Linked DNA regions of Homo sapiens: region 2 is linked to region 1. Evidence: promoter capture Hi-C in human tissues and cell types (Jung and others, 2019). All regions are on one chromosome and are shown on one strand. Each heading gives the region's core, a stretch centred on a gene start or on the middle of the fragment in contact. The rest is flanking DNA. Distances are from core to core; before and after follow the strand shown. Region 1 holds the start of SBDS (SBDS ribosome maturation factor). Region 2 has its middle 43 kb from the start of KCTD7.

What was found. The method cuts DNA at HindIII sites, captures the fragments that hold promoters and counts their contacts. A contact is called where the count stands out against the background at its distance.
Region 2: a fragment that was not itself captured here is called in contact with the fragment with the promoter of SBDS in region 1 in 1 of the 25 tissues and cell types used here (lymphoblastoid cells).

Annotation. Positions count from the first base shown.
Region 1 is chr7:66,994,336-66,997,466 of GRCh38, forward strand. It overlaps SBDS (SBDS ribosome maturation factor), which reads right to left and starts at 1,251. Exons shown (of 5, transcript NM_016038.4): 1 at 955-1,251; 2 at 1-6. The coding sequence starts at 1,082. TYW1 (tRNA-yW synthesizing protein 1 homolog) reads left to right here and starts at 2,498. Exons shown (of 16, transcript NM_018264.4): 1 at 2,498-2,647. The coding sequence starts at 2,644. RefSeq lists an enhancer at 635-684 and a silencer at 2,249-2,368. The HindIII fragment of the contact is 8,933 bases long and covers 1-3,131 here.
Region 2 is chr7:66,584,755-66,587,885 of GRCh38, forward strand. It overlaps the pseudogene RABGEF1P1. Among named protein-coding and RNA genes, the nearest start is that of KCTD7, 43 kb to the right of the region's middle. The HindIII fragment of the contact is 7,682 bases long and covers 1-3,131 here.

The DNA.
Region 1 (3,131 bases), core at 1-2,500:
TTTTCCCTTGTGAGGGCAGGAGAGAAAGTCCTATGTGAATATACTTGAAACTTGGACATGCATTTACATTTAAATACGAGATGGCAACAACATGAACGGCAAGACACAACAAATCCCCCTGATGACCTTTAGTGTAGAGGGCAGTTTTCTTTTTCTTACCCCCCAACCCCCGCCCCTAGATGGAATTTCACTGTTTTTGCCCAGGCTGGAGTGCAATGGCGCGATCTCGGGTCACTGTAACCTCAGCCTCCCGGGTTCAAGTGATTCTCCCGCCTCAGCCTCCTGAGTAACTGGGATTACAGGCATGCGCCACCACACCCGGCTAACTTTGTATTTTTAGTAGAGATGGGGTTTCATGTTGGCCAGGCTGGCCTCGAACTCCTGGCCTCAAGTGAACTGCCCGCATCGGCCTGAGGGAACATTTTCAAAACTCAGAACCGTATTTGCCTTACCATTTGCTCACTGGAGAAAAATGTCATGGGAGGACGTAAGAAACACAAGGGTGGGGTGGGGTGCAGACAGCTGCTGCCACGGAATGCCAGTCCCTAGATGGCAGCAGTGAAGACACTACGCACTTTAAACTGCTAGGGCTACTGAGATCTATGACACCAGATGTACCCACAACTATGACAGTATTCGTAAGACTAGGTTCTCAGCCATCATTATTCTAGGAAAAGGACCACAATTACGAGATTTCTTGGCTGCAGCTTTTATGACACCAACAAAACAAAACCCCAAACCAACAACCCAATCCGAACCAACCAAATAAAGAAGAAACCCTTGGCTTAGGCGCCAAGCTCGGACAGCGACGTCTCATGCTCACAGCAGGAATGTTCCATTTCCTCCCCGGCCAACACCCCAGCCTGGCCCATTCACTCGACTTGGGCAGAGACAGGCCGCCTCGGAGGTGACGGCTCAGGCCCAGGCCCAGGCCCGAGGGAGGGGGCTACTCACACGCCGCTCCGCCAGCCGACGACCTTGTTTTTGTAGCAGGCGATTTCGAAGCGCTTCCCGGCACGCTTCATCCGTACCACGGCCACATTGGTTAGGCGGATCTGGTTGGTGGGGGTGAAGATCGACATCGCGGCTGTTCAAAGACCCAGAAGCCGGCGAACCAGGGCTGACCCGCGCCGTCCAGCCTGAAGGCCACCAGCGCCTCGCGGTAACGACCGATCGGCGCGCGGCACTGACCCAACCACCAGTGCGCGGCGCCGCGACTCACTAGCTTCAGGCAGCCGTCACAGTGTGTCTGGCAGGCTTACTTACTGCGCAGGCGTCAGGTGGAGCAGAAGCCGGGAGGGGAAAAGTGAGCGATGACGCCTGCGTATTGTGGCTTTTTACGCCATCTTTCCACGCCCAAAAAGGGAGGTGCTTTTCCTTGGCGTATTTACTTTCGCCAATGAGCTGAGAGCTCTGACAGGATGCTCGCGGATGTTTAGTGACCGGGTTAAAACACAGCGTTGGCACCACCTCGTTCCGCGGAATTCAAGGGCCAGACCCACTTTATAATATAAATATTTTTTATAATAGAATTATTTTATAATAAATATTTTTATTTACTCACCCTTTTATAATAGAAATATTTTAACATAAAATGTAGACAAAAAAGTGTAATGAACCTTCTATGTACCCATCACCCCGCTATCAACATTTTGCCATCCTTGTTTTATTCTTTTTTCATTTTTTTGTTGCTTTTTTATTTACAGTTTTTTTTTTAAGTCAGTCTCACTCTGTCACCCAGGCTGGAGTGCAGTGGCAGGGTCATGGCCCCACTGCAGCTTCGACCTCCTGGGTTCGAGCGATCTTCCAGCGTTAGCTTCCCAAGTAGCTGGGACTACAGGTGTGAGCGGCCACGCCAAGCTAATTTAATTAAATAAATAATTAAAAAAAATTTTTTGTACAGACGAGGTCTCACTATGTTGCTCAGGCTGGTCTCGAACTCCTGGGCTCAAGCGATCCTCCCGCTTCGGCTTCCCAAGTGCTGGGATTACAGGTTTGAGTCACAGCGCCCGGCCGGTTGGGGGTATTTTAAAGAAACCATCATATGGTTTCAGCATTAAATACTTCAGCCTATAGCCCTTAACAGATACACGCGACGAGATTAACTACAATTCCTTAATATCATCTAATAGCGAGTCCATCCTCGGGTTTCCCAAAAATAATGCCTTTCTACAGTCGGTTTATTTCAGTTAAGATCCAAACAGGCCCACATAGCATTTCCCCCGCTCCCCGCTCCTTTCCTCTTTTAATTTTCCCATGCCAATCATTTCTCTCTGGGCCCGCCTTTTCCCAGTCTGAGCCAATCCAAATGGAGGCGGAAGCGCTCCGCCTTCATCGCCTGGAACTCTGGGAGGTGCTTATTTCTGGGCACGCCCCCTTTCCCCTCTGAGCCAATCGGAGCAGGGCCGAGAGCGCACCGGGCACTGGCTTCCTTTCCCGGAGCTCTGGGCTTTCCTCTGGGCCCACCTCTTCGTCCTCTGAACCAATCAGGACCGGCCTGGCAGTGTCATGGCTGCCCACAGGTCTGCAGGCACTCGGTACGCCGCTAACGCGGCGAGGTAGCTCGGTGCGTCTCGCGGTACCAGTGCGAATCATCGGGCTATCCAGGTCCGAGATCCTAGTCTCCTGTCGGCTCTGAGGAGGATGGGTAAGGGCACTCGGCGGGCAAGGACCCTGGGGCGGCAGGGGAGGTAAACGTTTTACTGAGACCCTCTCCGGGCGGAGTGGCGTCCTCGGTCCCTTTCCTTCGGAGACTGTTGCACTTGACAGCACCGGCTAGTCGCCGCTGAGAGCAAGGAGGACTGATCCCTACTTTTGACCTGGCTTTTGCCTTTTGAGGCTAGGGGGTTAGACAGAAAACTACCCCTCCCACTTTACCTACGTGTATTAGGACTTTTGCACCTGTAAAGCCTAAATTTCAGGCCTCGACTTTTGAAATTGCTCCCAGGTTGAACGTTTGAAGCCAGGTCCCTGCATATCTCTCTTAAAAAAAAAAAAATGAGGTGTAAGGTCAGTTACTTGAGAATCTTTTACAAGTTTAACCGTGAGCCTTTGAAAGTACAGTTAGTAAAAAGAGTGCTTTTACTACTTAAGCTTTTTTTATGGAGCAAGCACAACAAAACAAAATTAAT
Region 2 (3,131 bases), core at 265-2,764, 410 kb before region 1:
TGAGACTCAACTCTTTCCTGGGCAGACAGACCTGTCCCTAGACAGGTAACCACCACCAGCACTGCTTCCAGGAGGGAGCTCCGAGGGGCCGCACATTGCTCCTGTTGGAGCACTGCACTCCAATAAATAGGAGCTTGATTGAACAACCTGGACATAAAGAATGCACAATTCAATTGGTCCCACCTATGTCAGGGAAGACAGAGTAAAAATGATCTCTGCTGCTGGGACAGTTAGGATTCTACAAATTATGCCCCAGGGCTGGGATTTATTCTGGGTCCATGTACTCTAAAAAGGACAGACAGGTACAAAGCATACTTACAAAGCTCACAGAACTATTAGTGTTCTTTCTTAAGGCTCTGGATGCAAACCAGTTTCATCTCAGAAAAGCAAAACGAAAACACTTTGCAGATGTGAGTATTTTCCCTCTATCCTTGAGCGGGCCCTGCTTCCTATTCCTGGGTTCAATGTCATGCCCTCACAGGTCACTCCTATCTCCAGGCAACTCATCTGGGACTTACAGGAAACACCCAATCAATTCTAGTAAAACGATAAGCTATCCATTGACCTCAGTTAAGGAATAAAACTTATGGGTGATTTTTTTCCCTTAAATTTTTTTTTCCAGTTAGAAAAGTAAAGAATACTCATTATTTACAAAACCTGATAATATATAGACAAGTAGAAAAAAAATGTGTTAATCATCATCCAGAGACAGTTACTATATGTAGTACATATTCCTATAGTGTTCCCTCTGCACTCATTCACCAAATATTTATACACTGATTGATTACTGTACGACAGCCACTTGGGACACAGGCACTTGGGACAGGCACTTGGGATACAAATGTAATTAAAAATAAATCGAACAGTTTGCTAGAAACAGAAACGGAATGCCAAAGGGTATGTGCATTTAAAATTTTGACATATACCAAACTGGTCTGACAAAATATACTATTTACATTCCCACCTACAGTGTATGAGAATCTGGTTTCCCATAACCTCATAAGCATAACATTATTGAACTTTAATTTGTCAATCTGACAGGCAAACAAAAAAAACCATTTAACGTGCATTTCCCTAAGGTTAGCCATCTTTGCAGATATTTATTGTCATTAATATATTTTCTTTGAAGAAATTAACTGATTTTGCTCATTTTTCTATGTCATTACTATTTTCTTTCGATTTATAGGTACTCTTCTCATATATCTTTCAGTCCTCAACTTCATGGTATGAAGACGCCATCATTCTAATAAAAGACTTATTAGCATCTGCAATCTGTAATCCAAGTTTCACCAACTTTCATATGATTAAGTATAATGCTTCCAAAATCAATGTGAATGTCAATGTCAGAGTTTTAATGTTAAATATAACAAAACATTATTTGTCCAAACATTAGCCTTGGAAAATAATTCCAAATGATAATCAACTCCCTAGAATACAATGTAGAGTTGATTGCTGCTGGAATGAGCAGAGCAAGCAGGGGAGCATTCTCAAGGAATGAGTTCTAGACAACAATCTTCTATTGCACTAGATCACACCCTCCTTGGTTAAGCAAAATTGTAACTCTAATCTGAGCATGCCCTTCTCCAGACTAACAGCTCAAAATTACATACAAGATAATCTGGCTACTGCAGCCTACTTTGTACCATTCTCTATGCCCTCGCCCAGGGAAGTAGCACATATGGTCAATTTATTCACTAAGTCACTAACCAAAAATTATTTATCTTAACTCCACCTAAAGTAACAGCAACCTGCAATACATGAGATGGTCTCTGTTAAAGGCATTTCTTTTCTTAAGTTTCTTTTCTTTTCTTTATTTGACATATTGTCTCGCTCTATAACCCAGGCTAGAGTGCAGTGGCATTATCACAGCTCACCATAACCATGACTGCCCGGACTCAAGTGATCCTCCCCACTTTAGCCTCCCAAGTAGCTGGGACTACACGTGTGCACCAACAACCCTGGATAATTTTTTTTTTTTTCCAGACTGAGTCTCACTCTGTCGCCCAGGCTGGAGAACAGTGGCGCGATCTTGGCTTACTCCAAGCTCTGCCTCTGGGTTGATGCCATTCTCCTGCCTCAGCCTCCAGAGCAGCCGGGACTACAGGCACCCGCCACCATTCCTGGCTAATCTTTTGTATTTTTATTAGAGACGGGGTTTCACCATGTTAACCAGGATGGTCTTGATCTCCTGACCTTGTGATCCACCTGCCTTGGCCTCCCAAAGTGCTGGGATTACAGGTGTGAGCCACCGCGCCTGGCCAACAGAGACAGGATCTAGCTATATTGCCCAGGCTGGTCTCAAACTCCTGGCCTCAAGCAATCCTCCCATCTTGGCCACACAAAGTGCTGGAATTACAGGAATGAGCCAATGCACTCAGCTCAGAATTTTTTTCTGAAAGGCATATCATAGTTTTAGCTTTGCTGCAGCCATTTCATCCATACTCACTTGCTGTGGCTGGGTAAAGTGATACACACATACACACACGCCCACACTAGTTTAGAGAAATACAAAACGCAATGCCTAGACCTGAAATGTATTTATTCAGATTTGTTAGATGGCGCAATCAAATAAATATCTGTGTTATGCTCTAAGCTTTTAAGAAATCTCTTGTATCTAAAATATAAGACACATATGTAAATGACATCCAACTGAGCTGGACTGACCAATGTACTGAAAAAGGGCTACCACATGCTGCTACAGGGCCTCACCCTGTTGGCCAGGCTGGTCTCCAACTCCTGGGCTCATGTGATCCGCCTGCTGTGGCTTTCCAAAGTGCTGGGATTACAGGTGTGAGCCACCATGCCTGGCTTAAATTCTAAACAGAAATAATAAAAGCCAGAAGATAATTTGACAGTGCTGAAACAATCTAAAGTATGATGGCTTTAAAAAAAAAAAAAAAGCTGAAAGAAAAAACCTGCCCACCTAGGATACAGTTCTAAGTGACCACTTCCTTTAAAAGCTGATGGCAAAGGCCTGGTACAGTGGCTCACACCTGTACTCCCAGCACTTTGGGAGGCCAAGGTGGGCAGATCACGAGATCAGGAGATGGAGACTGTCCTGGCTAACATGGTGAAACCCAGTCTCTACTAAAAATACAAAAAATTAGCCAGGCATGGTGGCATGTGCAAGT